Linked DNA regions of Homo sapiens: all the other regions are linked to region 2. Evidence: promoter capture Hi-C in human tissues and cell types (Jung and others, 2019). All regions are on one chromosome and are shown on one strand. The core of a region is centred on a gene start or on the middle of the fragment in contact, and the rest is flanking DNA. Distances in the headings are between cores, read along the strand shown. Region 1 overlaps CLEC10A (C-type lectin domain containing 10A). Region 2 holds the start of BCL6B (BCL6B transcription repressor). Region 3 has its middle 30 kb from the start of ALOX12.

What was found. The method cuts DNA at HindIII sites, captures the fragments that hold promoters and counts their contacts. A contact is called where the count stands out against the background at its distance.
Region 1: a contact is called between a fragment that was not itself captured here and the fragment with the promoter of BCL6B in region 2, in 1 of the 25 tissues and cell types used here (liver).
Region 3: a contact is called between a fragment that was not itself captured here and the fragment with the promoter of BCL6B in region 2, in 1 of the 25 tissues and cell types used here (neural progenitor cells).

Annotation. Positions count from the first base shown.
Region 1 is chr17:7,070,314-7,074,573 of GRCh38, reverse strand. It overlaps CLEC10A (C-type lectin domain containing 10A), which reads left to right. Exons shown (of 9, transcript NM_001330070.2): 9 at 1-37. Among named protein-coding and RNA genes, the nearest start is that of CLEC10A, 7.8 kb to the left of the region's middle. The HindIII fragment of the contact is 4,659 bases long and covers 1-3,958 here.
Region 2 is chr17:7,021,052-7,025,439 of GRCh38, reverse strand. BCL6B (BCL6B transcription repressor) reads right to left here and starts at 2,390. Exons shown (of 9, transcript NM_181844.4): 1 at 2,341-2,390; 2 at 1,590-1,780; 3 at 1,136-1,357; 4 at 677-1,039; 5 at 240-364. The coding sequence starts at 1,768. RefSeq lists a silencer at 3,297-3,436. The HindIII fragment of the contact is 11,810 bases long and covers 1-4,388 here.
Region 3 is chr17:6,964,213-6,968,464 of GRCh38, reverse strand. No RefSeq gene overlaps it. Among named protein-coding and RNA genes, the nearest start is that of ALOX12, 30 kb to the left of the region's middle. The HindIII fragment of the contact is 6,098 bases long and covers 1-4,252 here.

The DNA of each region.
Region 1 (4,260 bases), core at 380-2,879, 50 kb before region 2:
CTTCATATAAGTGAATATATACTCTCGTGAGAACTTACGTACTTTGTGTTGCTTGATTTTTGGCAATCTAAAAATGGCAGAGTGGAGAAGCCAGGTGAAGCCTTCGAAAGTCCTATGTGATTGAGAAAATAGCATTTTCTTCTCATATAGATTTGAGTTCAAATCTTTTCTGTCACTTAAAGATGGTATAAACTTAGGGTGATTAGGAAAAGCCATTGTTTAATTTCTCTGAAGATCCCAGAGTTGTTGGGAGATGTAGATAAGATCCCCAGGTGTATTGGTTAGCAATTGGTGTGTAACAAACCACCTCAAAGCTCAGGGCTTATACAGTAAGCATTTATTATAGCTCATGAGGCTATAGGTCTGGTCTGGCCAGGTTTGGGTCATCTTGGCTGGGCTTGTTTATGCGTCCGTGGTCAGCTGGTGGGTTGGCTTGGGGTTGGCTGGTCTAGGGTAGCCTTGCTCCCATGTCTCATATTTGGCTGGCTCTGGGCTGGGACAATGGGGATGACTGGGCCACATTAGCTTAGCCTGGCCTTGTTCACAGAATGGCTGGGTGGGGGTCCAAGAGAGAAATTGGAAGACTGCAAGGACTTCAGAGCCTTGCTTGGAACTGAAGCATCGTTTTTGCTGCATCCTATTGGCCAAAGCAGATTGCAAGGCTGCCCAGGTTCAAGGGCCAGAGAAATAGATTCCACATTTTGGTGGGGGGTTGGGGGGGGGTCTACAAAGTCATACTGTGTAGAGAATGGATATAGAGAGGGGTGGAGATTTCTGTTTTTTCAATCAATCCAGCATATACCAGGGAAGCATCTCAGCTATTTTGATTTTTTTTTTTTTTTTTTTTTTTGAGACGGGAATTTCCTTCTTGTTGCCCAGGCTGGAGTGCAATGGCGTCATCTCAGCTCACTGCAACCTCCGCCTCCCAGGTTCAAGTGATTCTCCTGCCTCAGCCTTCCGAGTAGCTGGGATTACAGGAGCCTGCCACCATGTCTGGCTACTTTTGTGTTTTAAGTAGAGATGGGGTTTCTCCAGGTTGGTCAGGCTGGTCTCCAACTCCCGACCTCAGGTGATCAGCCCGCCTCGGCCTCCCAAAGTGCTGGGATTACAGGCATGAGCCACCACACCCAGCTGCATTTCAGCTATTAAGAACCAACTTTTTAAGTTCATTAAGGGATGGCAGGACCCATTCATTGCTGTATTACTGTACCCAGAAAGCTCCCTGGCATATAGGAATGTCTGAATTAGCTGTCAGGATTTGCTGATGGGTTGTCTGAGGGGTTTGGGAAAATGAGAAAGTCAAGGATAATTCCAGGTTTGGGGCTTGAAAACCTAGAAGGATGGAGTCCCAGTTAATTAAGATGGGAAGACCGTGTGAGAAGCTGGTTTTGTGGGTGGGATGAGGAGATAAGAAGCTTTATTTTGAACATGTTGAGTTTGAGGAGCCTGTTAGACTTCCAAATGGAGTTTATTCTTTTTTATTTTTCTGTGTACCATAGTAAACATTTATAATTTTATTCAAAGGGTTTTTTTTTAATCAGTTCCAGCAAGATACAGGTGTCAAAACCAAAGGATTTATTTCTCTTTCTCTCTCTCTACATATATATATAGAGAGACAGGTTCTTGTTCTGTCACCCAGGCTAGAATGCAGTGGTGCGATCATAGCTCACTGCAGCCTTGAACTCCTGGACTCAAGCAATCCTCTCTTCTCAGCCTCCTGAGTAGCTGAGACTATAGATGTGTGCCCCCATGCCTGGCTAAGTTTATTTTTTGTAGAGATAGGGTCTCACTATGTTGCCCAGGGTGGTTTCAAACTCCTGGGCTCAAGCGATTGTCCTGCCTTGGCCTCCCAAACTGCTAGGATTACAGGTATGAGCTGCAGTGCTTGGCCACAAAAGGGTTTATTGAAAAGAGTTTAATGACATTTACAGAGTGTGAGCAGGGTTGAGGAAGCCAACAAAAGTTGGTGAAGTCCCTGTGGCTAAGAATAGCAGAGACATCACCACTCTGAAGCCTGAAGGCACAAAAGTAAAGAACATCCACCCAGATCATCCACCCAAGCAGCTCTGTGCCTCTCTCCCCTGGGTCTGAAAGATTTTGGATCATGGGAGAGAAGCCACCCAGCAGGAGCGTGAGATCACAGTTCTACCAGGGCCACAGAATGTAGAGGGGAGCAGGAGAACCAATACAAGTCAGTTCCCTCTAGAATTTCCTGACCTGGTAATTCTGCTACCTAAGAAAGCAAACAATTACATTCTCTAGTTTTGTACAGGTAACTGGACGGCGGAGGCAGGGAGGGCATTAGGGAAAATATGGAGAGGGCGACTTTGTGTTATAGGTGGAAATAACTGGGAAGATGGATCACAGATTGAACTAGTTATTGGAGGAGATTGAAATGATCTCTCCACTGACTTCCAGATTGGGTTGGACAGCCCCAAACCAATACAATCCCAGTTCCAGCCCCAACTGCAGTCCCAATGTCGGCTCTAAATTCATCCCTAAATTCAATCTCTGTCCCCACTGCAGCTCCAGCCTAGCTGTACTACACCCCCATGCTCCATCCCACATGTTTCCAATCTCAGCCCCAAACTCAGACCCAACTCCAAAGGAGCCCTGTCTACAATCTTAGCCTGAGACCCAATCTGATTTTTAGCCCCAAGTAAGTCAACCCCATCCTAACCCCAGATACAACCCCAATTGTGATCGCTGTTTCAACCTCACCTGCAAACCCAGCCCCCAGCCACATTCCTAGTTCTCACGCCTGGCTCAGCCACTATCGAATCCTCACTTCCTACCTCAAAACCAGCTCCACACCCACCTCCAGCCCTTATTTCAGGCTCCCCCTCGGAGCCCTTTCTCTGCCTCCATCTCAGCTCCTGCAGCCACAGAGACCACTTGGGCCAAGGATGTCAATGAAGTATGAAGATCTCAAGTGCTTAGAGAGTGAGAAGGAACATGATCTTAGAAAAGGTATGACAGGCCAGGTGCGGCGGCTCACGCCTGTAATCCCAGCACTTTGGGAGGCTGAGGTGGATGGATCACCTGAGGTCAGGAGTTCGAGACCAGCCTGGCCAACATGGCGAAACCCCGTCTCAACTAAAAATAAAAAATTGGGCCGGGTGCAGTGGCTCACACCTGTAATCCCAGCACTTTGGGAGGCTGAGGCAGGCGGATCGTGAGGTCAAGAGATCAAGACCATCCTGGCCAACATGGTGAAACCTGTCTCTACTAAAAAATACAAAAATTAGCTGGGCATGGTGGCGGGTGCCTGTAGTCCCAGCTACTTATTAGGCTGAGGCAGGATAATTGCTTGAACCTGGGAGGCGGAGGTTGCAGTGAGCCGAGATCGCGCCACTACACTCCAGCCTGGCAACAGAGCGAGACTCTGTCTCAAGAAAAAAAAAAAAAAGAAAAAGAAAAGGTAAGACAAGCAGAAGACCCCAGAGACAGGCCCACCCCTCAAAGTTTGCAGAGGCCTGAGCTAGTTCCTCTTGAGCTCACTTCCCTTTGCTCCCTTCCCTCAGCTCAGTCTTGCACCTTGAGGAGCCTGGGGGACACGTGAGGACACCTTCAGCATGGTCCACACCCTCCATTCACCCCCCCAACCTCTGCCCATGGCTACCACTTGAGCCTCAGGGTGGGCACACCAGGAGCAGGGTCTGCCACCCAGGGGACAGGCCCGGGGAAGACAGGTGTACAGCTGCCTGGGTGGACGATCTGGGCTCCCAGGTACCCAGAGGATGGTCTAGAAGGGCAGGTATGGCTTGGGGTGAGCACATCACCTTGGCCCTGGAGATTCCCAGTCCCACAGGAAGGGATGGAGTCACAGGAGGGCCAGTGAGGGCCCTCTAAAGTGTGAAGCCCAGGAGGTCTAGTCTAAGGATGGTGCCTCTCTCAGAGACAGTAACTCTTTCTTTCTTTCTTTCTTTCTTTCTTTCTTTCTTTCTTTCTTTCTTTCTTTCTTTCTTTCTTTTCTTTCTTTTCTTTCTTTTCTTTCCTTTCTTTTCTTTTCTTTCTTTCCTTCTTTTCTTCCTTTCCTTTCTTTTCTTTCTTTTCCTTCTTTCCTTCTTTCTTTTTTTTTTTTTTTTGATGGAGTTTTGCTCTTGTTGCCCAGGCTGGAATGCAATGATGTGATCTCGGCTCACTGCAGCTTCCACCTCCTGGGTTCAAGTGATTCTCCTGCCTCAGCCTCCTGAGTAGCTGGGATTACAGGTATGCGCCACCATGCCTGGCTAATTTCATATTTTTAGTAGAGACGGG
Region 2 (4,388 bases), core at 1,141-3,640:
CTTTGCTGCTCATTGGAAGCACTGGGAGAGCTTTAGAAAAATACTGATGACTCGTCCCATGTCCAGATATTTTAATCTATGGAGTGTGACCTGGGCAGTGGGAGTTTAAAAGCTTCCTAGGTGATTCTAATTTGTAATAAAGTTTAGGAACCATTGGAATAGGCCTTTCTGGGAGAGTTTTTGGCACAAACTTGCCTGGAGCAGTCACGGGAGAAAAGCCAAGAAAGAGGGGCTCTTACCCGGTAGTGGACGAGCCCGTTCAGAGGGTGATCCAGAGGTGTCTTGAGCCTGGGATGTGAGGAGGTAGGGGGTACTGGCTGGAGCCCCACATTTGAACTGCACAGTGGCAGCAGTTGGAGAGAGCCTAGGCAGATGGCAAGGAAAGGGTTAAAAGAGATTGTACGGTTGAGGGGTGGGGGTTCTCTCCTGGGAAATTTGGAGCCAAAGGCCTGCCCTCTCAGGGTGAGCCAATATTGTTGACCAATGAGCCACATCCATTGTACTGCCCAAGTGCCACCCTGCTGAATAAACCTGGTCTCTGGCCAGCTCCTTAAGGTGAGCTAGTGTCTCTGAAACCCACCACCTATCTCCCTTCCTCCTGACCATCAAGGCCCAATGACTCTGTCTTCTAGCTGAGGCCAGCTCTGACAAATTCTTGAGGTTCTAGACTCTGTACCTGCTCTGGGGACCAGGAATGGGTCCTTCTTCACTGCTGCTGCTGCTGCTGCTGCTGCTGCTGGAGGCCTCGTCTCCACTGGGGAGCCTGGCTTGGGGGCAAGGTTGACCAGAACTTCTCTCCCCGACCAGGCTCCCTGCTTGGGAGGCCTGAGAGTTTAGCACGATGTACTTGTACTTTTTCCAGTTGCAGGCCTTGGGGTCAGGGCTGGCTGGACTGGGGGGGCCTTGACTGCAGCTTCGAGATTCAGTAGGTGGGTCTGGGTGTCCTTCGGAGCGCCTGGGACTACCTGGTGGAGGGGCCGTTGGGGGTGTTGGGGGTTCTGCTTCCAGGGGGCGCAGGGAGATGCCCAGAGGTTCATAGCTGGGGAAAGTGTGATGAACGTTAGTGCCATTTCCTAAACTCTGCCTTTGCCCTTAACACCTCACCCACAGAGAACGCCGAGCCAGGGTCCCTCACCTGGCCTGGATGAAGCGGTGGCATGCCTGGACCACGTGCTCCATCTGCAAATAGGTGGCGGCCGCTAGGACTGCTGGTGCAGTGGCTGGAGAGAGGCGCAGGCGCGAAGTGTACATGAAGTCCAATAGAGGGGCGAAGCCTCTCGCTTCGGGACCCCCGGGCAGAGAGAGCACGTCCACCCCGACTCCCGCACGGCCCCGGAAAATTGAATAGAAGAAGCCACTAGAGAGAGAGCAGATAAGTCCTTTGGGGGCTGGGGAACCAAGGGAGACATGCGCAGCTTCAGGAAGCCCCGCCCCCTGAAAAAGTCCCGCCTCCTCACTATCACCCCGCCCCCAATTCTGGGACGCTCCGCCTCCTGCTTCTGAAAGACTTGGCTTCGGATTCCCTCTCAACGGCCCTGTGGTCCCACCCCTTTCCCATTTGGCCCCGCCCCAGGCCCCACCCCTCGAACCTGCAGGCGATGAGAACTGCCTTGTGTGCTCTGAGGGGTTGCCCGCCAACCAGCAGCGTGACGTCAGTGAGGATCCCGCGCAGGCGCAGCTCGTTGAGGTTGCCCAGCACGTCGGAGGAGTGGCGAGTGAACTCGCGGACGTAGCCCAGCGCTCCCTCCGGGGCGGCGGGGGAACCCATAGCGACACAGGCCTGTAGAGGCCGTGGAAAGTGCTCTGGATCCAGGCAGTCCTAAGACGCCTTCCCTCCTCTGTTTGCCTTTTCCTTCCGAGGTGCAACTAGAGCCAGGACTTCCAGCCCCTAGCCCCGGCACACGCAGCCTCCCTCCTAATTCTTCTTGTTCATTCTGCCCTCTACGACACCCTCGCTCCCTTGCCTCTTCCAGATCCCACAGCGCTTGGAGCCAGTTGAAGGTTCCACACCGCGGCGTCGTTGGCGAGCGTGGGGAATCCCGCGCCCATCGCCCTGGGTTCGACCCCCAGTGCCCCTCCAGCACCGCCACTCCCCTCTGCGCGCCTGTGTCTCAGGTGTCCAACCCTGCCTCGAGATCTCACGGCCTGCCGTCCACACACCTCCAAATCCCAGCCGAGGCTCCCTTCCCCGAACTACGGAATTCTGCGACTCCTATCTAGTCCCCAATCCCTAGTTTAGCCCAATTTCTGGGACTCAGGCTCGCTGATGGCAAGCTCCACACAAGCTCCTACCCTCTTGGGGGACCCAGGAGTCTGGCTCCCTCAGTCTCTTGTTCTTACCCCCGTCCTGCAGGGGCCGCGGCTTCTCTTCTTAAGGGGGGCGGGGTCTCTCTCCCCTCTTGGCCTCGGCTCCTTTATCTGGCCGGGATGTCGGGGGCGGGGGTGGAGGTGGGGTGAACGCCTGGGTCTGTATCCTTCCTTCCTCCCTCGCTCTCCAGATGGCGAGTCCAGGGCGGGGTCTCCGTCTCGAGGGCGGGACCTCAGAAACAAGGGGTGGTCGTAACGTAGGGGGTCTTGGGTCACTGCAAGTGGACACGAGGACGGGGATATTGGAATTGGGGAGGAGGTTAGGGATATCGAGGTTGGCAATACGGGAGTCTGAGTCGTCGGAAGGCCTGGGCCAGTGAAAATTGGTGTGTTGGCTTTTGGGAGGGTTTGCCAGGAGCCAACCTTTGCTGCAGGACAAAGTGCATACGGCAACCCCCTCTCCCTCTCTTGTACTGTGTTAAGGGAGAAAAGGGGGAGCCCAACGAGACAGCAGGTTTGGGCAGACGACAGTGGGCTCCCGTAGGGTCTCAGACGGGGAGGGTGTGGTGTGAATGACAGGCTACTCTACCCGGGCCTACAAAAAGGGGGGCTCTGGCCGGGCGGGGTACGGAGAGGGCGGATATGATTTCTAGTTGGTTTCCTTCCATTGTCCTGCGACCGGACGGCTCCGCCAGCTGCTTCCCCTCGAGGAGGTGGGGAAAGCCCCGAGGTGGGGGTGGAGGGGCGAGAGACGCTCGGGAGACCTAGGCGTCCGGCCTCTCTCGCTCCCGACTCTCTTCTGGGTCCTTGTAGGGATCCAGAGAGATGGACTCCCGCCCAAAGCCCGCTTGCTTTCCCCCAATCCCAGCTCACGAGGGCCTCGGGCACCCGCCCGTCGGCTACGCTTGGAGGCTGGCGGGACGCCGGGGTCCAGCGCGGCAAGTAGGCAAGGCTCGGCAATGTGCGGCTCCTTCCACGAGGGGGCGGCCGAGCACTGGCCTCGCCTCGCCCCTCGTCTCCACCCGGCCTGGGGTGCGCTCAGACCCGGGCGCAGGATCCATTTGGTCTGGGCGGCTGAAACCTTTAGCCTCCTCCCCTTTGCGCGGGTTTATTTTGCACCTCTGTCTCCTAGGAGGGGACTAGGGCTGGGCGGAGGGAGCTAGAGTTAGGAGACCGAGGGGACTTTCCCCTCAGGCTGGGGTTCCTACCCGAGGTGAGAAATCGCGGGCTTTAGGAGCCAGGGGAATGGGTGGGACAAGAAGCGGGACCTGAGCCTGGGAACTCCGGGTTTTCTTTTCGAATTAAGCTAGACACTGCTACCCAGATGTCTTTGGAGGTGACTTTTAATTGAACATTAAAATTGGGTGGGGTAAACGAGAAGGGAAAACAAGGAGGAGGGAGAGAGGGCAGGAGGGGGCTTAACCACCCTAATTTGAAGTCCCTGATCTGAGAGATGGGCATGGATCACACCCTCATATTTTGTTTCGGGAGACATTGCGGGCAGGCAAGGCAAAGCTCATTTGGAGAAGGGGTGCTAGAGCTGAATCCAGCTGCAAGGCAGAAGCTCCCCGGATTTGGGCTGGGGAGAGTGTACAGTTGGCCAGGAATGGCCGACCATGGTCCACGGGGCTGGATATCAGGCCCGGGGCCCTCCCCTTCAGACCGGAGTGTGTCTTTATTTGAATGCATGAAAGAACAGCTGAGAAACCGGGAACTGGGAAATTCAGGACGATGAGGTGGCTTTGACATGTGAGGGTTATTTAGGTCTCTGCCCAGCTTGGAGATGAGAATTAGACTAGGGGCTCTCCCTTTGGCATCAGGATGGAGTATTATTTGATCAGTTGTGGGGTGTCTGTTTATTATGGGGTGTTGATTTGATTGTGAGCACCGGTGGCTGCATTCAGCCTTTGAGGCCTATATGGTAAGTTTCAGGTATGGGGCTGACTTGGAAGTTACATTAGTTCTGGGGGTTCTGACACCCACAATTTGGAGATTGTGCTCACCTGTGTCATCTTGGACTATCAGCAGAACCAAAGTACTCATGCTGATTTGGGGGTGCAGTCTATTTTGGGGTGCCATCT
Region 3 (4,252 bases), core at 886-3,385, 57 kb after region 2:
ATGTAGGTCTATTTCTGGACTCTGTCCCATTGATCTATATGTCTATCCTGATGCCAACACTCTTGCTAATAATATATATTACCGTTTCATATATTAATATCTATTACTGAGCTAGCTTTATAGTTAGCTAAGTCTTGAAAGTCAGATAGTATCAGTCTTCCAACTTTGTTCTTATTTTTCTAGATTGTTTTGGATCTTCTAGATATTTTGCTTTTCTATTTAAACTTGAAATTCTGCTTGTCTCCTTCTATAAAATAGCTGTCTGAGGTTCTGATTTTTATTGATGCCTAAATCAGTCTAGGAAGAATTGATGTCTTTTTTTTTTTTTTTTTTTGAGATGGAGTCTCGCTCTGTTGCCCAGGCTAGAGTGCAATGGTGTGATCTCAGCTCACTGCAACCTCCACCTCCTGGGTTCAAGCAACTCTCCCGCCTCAGCCTGTCAAGAAGTGGATTACAGGCACCCGCCAACATGCCTGGCTAATTTTTGTATTTTTGTAGAGACAGGGTTTCACCATGTTGGCTAGGCTGGTCTTGAACTCCTGATCTCAGGTGATCCGCCCGCCTCGGCCTCCCAAAGTGCTGGGATTACAGGCATGAGCCACCACGCCTGGCTGAAAATTGGTATCTCAACTATACTGAGTCTTCTGCTCCATGGGCATGGTGTACTTCTTTATTATTTATTTATGTGTCAACGTCTCTCAGTATTCTGTAGAATTTCAATTTTCAATTTTGGTCATTTCTTGTGACTTTGAAACCAGTTTTATTTTCTTTCTATCTTCCTCTCTCTATCCCTCTATCCTTCTTTTGCCTTCTTCCTTCTCTTCCTCTTTCCCTCCTTTCTATAGTTTTTTATTCTTTTTTTCCTTTTAAAACTCAGCCATATAGTACATATCTTGAATCCTTGTTGACTTTTCATCGATGTATTACAACTTAAAATGCATTCTTTAGACAAATACATTTGGCAAACCTTAAAATGACGTTAGGCAGCGGTTGCAGCCAAGCACGCAGCACTTTGTGTGGAGAAGCTGTTGTGCGTAGAGTAGTTGTTGAGAGCGCAGACCATGGATCCAGACCACCCGTGTTTGCAATTCTGTCTCCGTTATTACTAGATGTGTCATCTTGGGAAAGTTATTTCATCTTTGTGCCTCAGTTGCTTCATTTGTAAATTGTGAAGAAAAGTACCTACCCTGAATGATTTTTGCGAAAATTAAAGGTCAATACAAGTGAAATGATCGGAATAGTAACTAGTAAGCACTGGTTTAGTGTATGATAATAACTACTATTATTATGACCCACTGTCTACTGGGAAAAGAAGCCTTGCAGTGAAAACACAAATAAAATGTGTAAGAATCCTGACTGGCATGGCCAGGTGCGGTGGCTCATGCCTGTAATCCCAGCACTTTGGGAGGCCGAGGCGGGTGGATCACCTGAGGTCGGGAGTTTGAGACCAGCCTGACCAACATGGAGAAACCCCGTCTGTACTAAAAATACAAAATTAGCCGGGCGTGGTAGTGGGCGCCTGTAATCCCAGCTACTCGGGAGGCTGAGGCAGGAGAATCACTTGAACCTGGGAGGCGGAGGTTGTGGTGAGCTGAGATTGCTCCATTGCACTCCAGCCTGGGCAACAAGAGCAAAACTCTATCTCAAAAAAAAAAAAAAAAAAAAAAAAAAAAAGAATCCTGACTGAAGCCTAGGAGCACAGAGATTGGAAGAGTCAGGGGAGTTTTCAATGAGAAGTTAATACTGAAGTCTTTAGACTACTTTTATTCAGGTATGATTGATATGAAAAGCTATTCCTATTTAATTATCACATATCAATGAATTTGCAGTTAAATATATGCCTGTGAAACCAACACTACCATCAAACCCATCGTCATCTCCCAAAGTTTCCTCCTGTCCCCTTCTGTGATAATGATGATGATGATGATGATGATGTGTGGCTCTTTTTTTTTTTTGGCAAGAACACTTACCATAAAATCTACTCTTTTAGCAATTTTAAGTACAAAATACAGCATCGTTAGCTACAGGCGGTATGCCATATAATAGATTTCCAGAACTTATTTATCTTGCATAATTGAAGCTTCGTACTCTGTAATTACCACTTCCTCATTTTCCCCTCCCTGCATCCCTTGTTTTTTTTTTTTTTTTTTTTTTTTTTTTTTTGAGACAGAGTCTCACTCTGTTGCCCAGGCTGGAGTACAATGGCATGATCTCAGCTCACTGCAACCTCTGCCTCCTGGGTTCAAGCGATTCTCCTGCCTCGGCTTCCTGAGTAGCTGGGACTACAGGCACCCGCCACCATGCCCAGCTAATTTTTGTGTTTTTACTAGAGACGGGGTTTCACCATGTTGGCCAGGCTGGTCTCGAACTCCTGACCTCAGGTAATCTGCCCACCTCGTCTTCCCAAAGTGCTGGGATTACAGGCGTGAGCCACCGCGCCTGACCGACATTTGTTATTTTTGAATTTTTGATAATACTCATGCTAACAGGTATGAGATTATGTCTCACTGTGATTTTGATTTGCATTTCCTTGATGATGACTGATGTTCAACACCTTTTTATATACCTGTTGGGCATTTGTATGTCTCCTTTGGAAAAATGTTTATTCAGGTATTTTGCCCACTTTAAACATCAGGTTTTTTTTTTTTTTTTTGCTGTTGAGTTGTATGAGTTCCTTATACATTTGGAATATTAACCCCTTATCAGATACATGGTATGCAAATGTTTTCTCCCATTCTGTGGTTGCCTTTTCATTTTGTTGATTGTTTTCTTTGCTGTGTAGAAACTTTTTAGTTTGATATAATTCTATTTATTTTTGCTGTTGTTGCTTGTGCTTTTGGTACCATATCCAAAAATGGATATGGATTTTGATGGACCCCCCAAATTATTGTCAAAACCAATGTCATAGAGCTTTCCTGTATGTTTTCTTCTAACATTTTTATGATTTCAGGTCTTACATTTAAGTCTTTAATCCATTTTGAGTTGACTTTTGTGTATGTTATAAATAAGGTCTAATTTCATTTTTTTAATGTTTATGTTCAGCTCTTTTGTTTTTGCTCACAATTTCTTTAGATATTAGAAGTCTTTTGTAGCTCAATACAAGTTTTAGGATTTCTTTTTTCTATTTCAGTGAAAAATGCCATTGGAATTTTGAAAGGGGTTGCAGCGAATCTTTAGATCACTTTGGGTAGTAGAGACATTTTGATAATATTGATTTTTCCTATTCATGGACATGGGATTTTGTGGAATAGGTTTACTGTGCACTGATTACCAACTTCCCTGAGTCCAGTAAGACTGAACACACTTATACGCAGCAAATTAAATATAGTGGATTTATTACCTACAGATAGGCAGCAAGGGACAACAGAAACCCAGTGTTCATTGCAAGCATTCCCGGAGTCTCTGGAAAACTGCTTGTGGTGGATGGAGTGTCATATGTGCATGCTCCACCTGCATTGCAGCTGAGGGACCTCCTCAAAAAAAGCAGCCTGCCCTGGCTTTTTTTTTTTTTTTTTTTTGGAGACAGAGTCTCACTCTGTTGCCCAGACTGGAGTGCAGTGGCATGATCTTGGCTCAGTGCAACCTCCGCCTCCTGGGTTCAAGGGATTCTCCTGCCTCAGCCTCCTGTATAGCTGGGACTACATGAGTGTGCCATCAGGCCTGGTTAATTTTTGTATTTTTAGTAAAGATGGGGTTTCGCCCTGTTGCCCAGGCTGGTCTCAAACTCCTGGCCTCCCAAAGTGCTGGGATTACAGGTATGAGCCACTGCACCTGGCTGGCTTTTTTTTAATACCCTGGGGTATGTGACATACTGGGCTAAATCACTGAAGGACATCTTATTTCTAGGGGAGACTGGAATAGAGCCTGGGCTATTCTGGCCAACTCCTTATCTCAGGATGGCGAATTCCCAGCACATTTTATAGTTATTCTTGGGAACTACAAGCAAGAAAGGGGAAGAACTAAGTCAGTGCAAGTCTACCTCCTCCCTAAATAACTGTCCTGCAGATATCTTTCCATTTATTTGTGACTTTCCAATATATTTCATTAATGTTTTATAGTTTTCAGTGTATAGGTCTTTCACCTCCTTATTTAAGTGTATTCCTAAGTATTTTATTCTTCCTGATGTTATTGTAGATGGAATTGTTATCTTAATTTCTTTTTTGGATAGTTCGTTGTCAGGGTATAGAAATGCTACTGATACTGTAGGTTGGTTTTTGTATCCTGCAACTTTACTGAATTCATTTATTAGTTT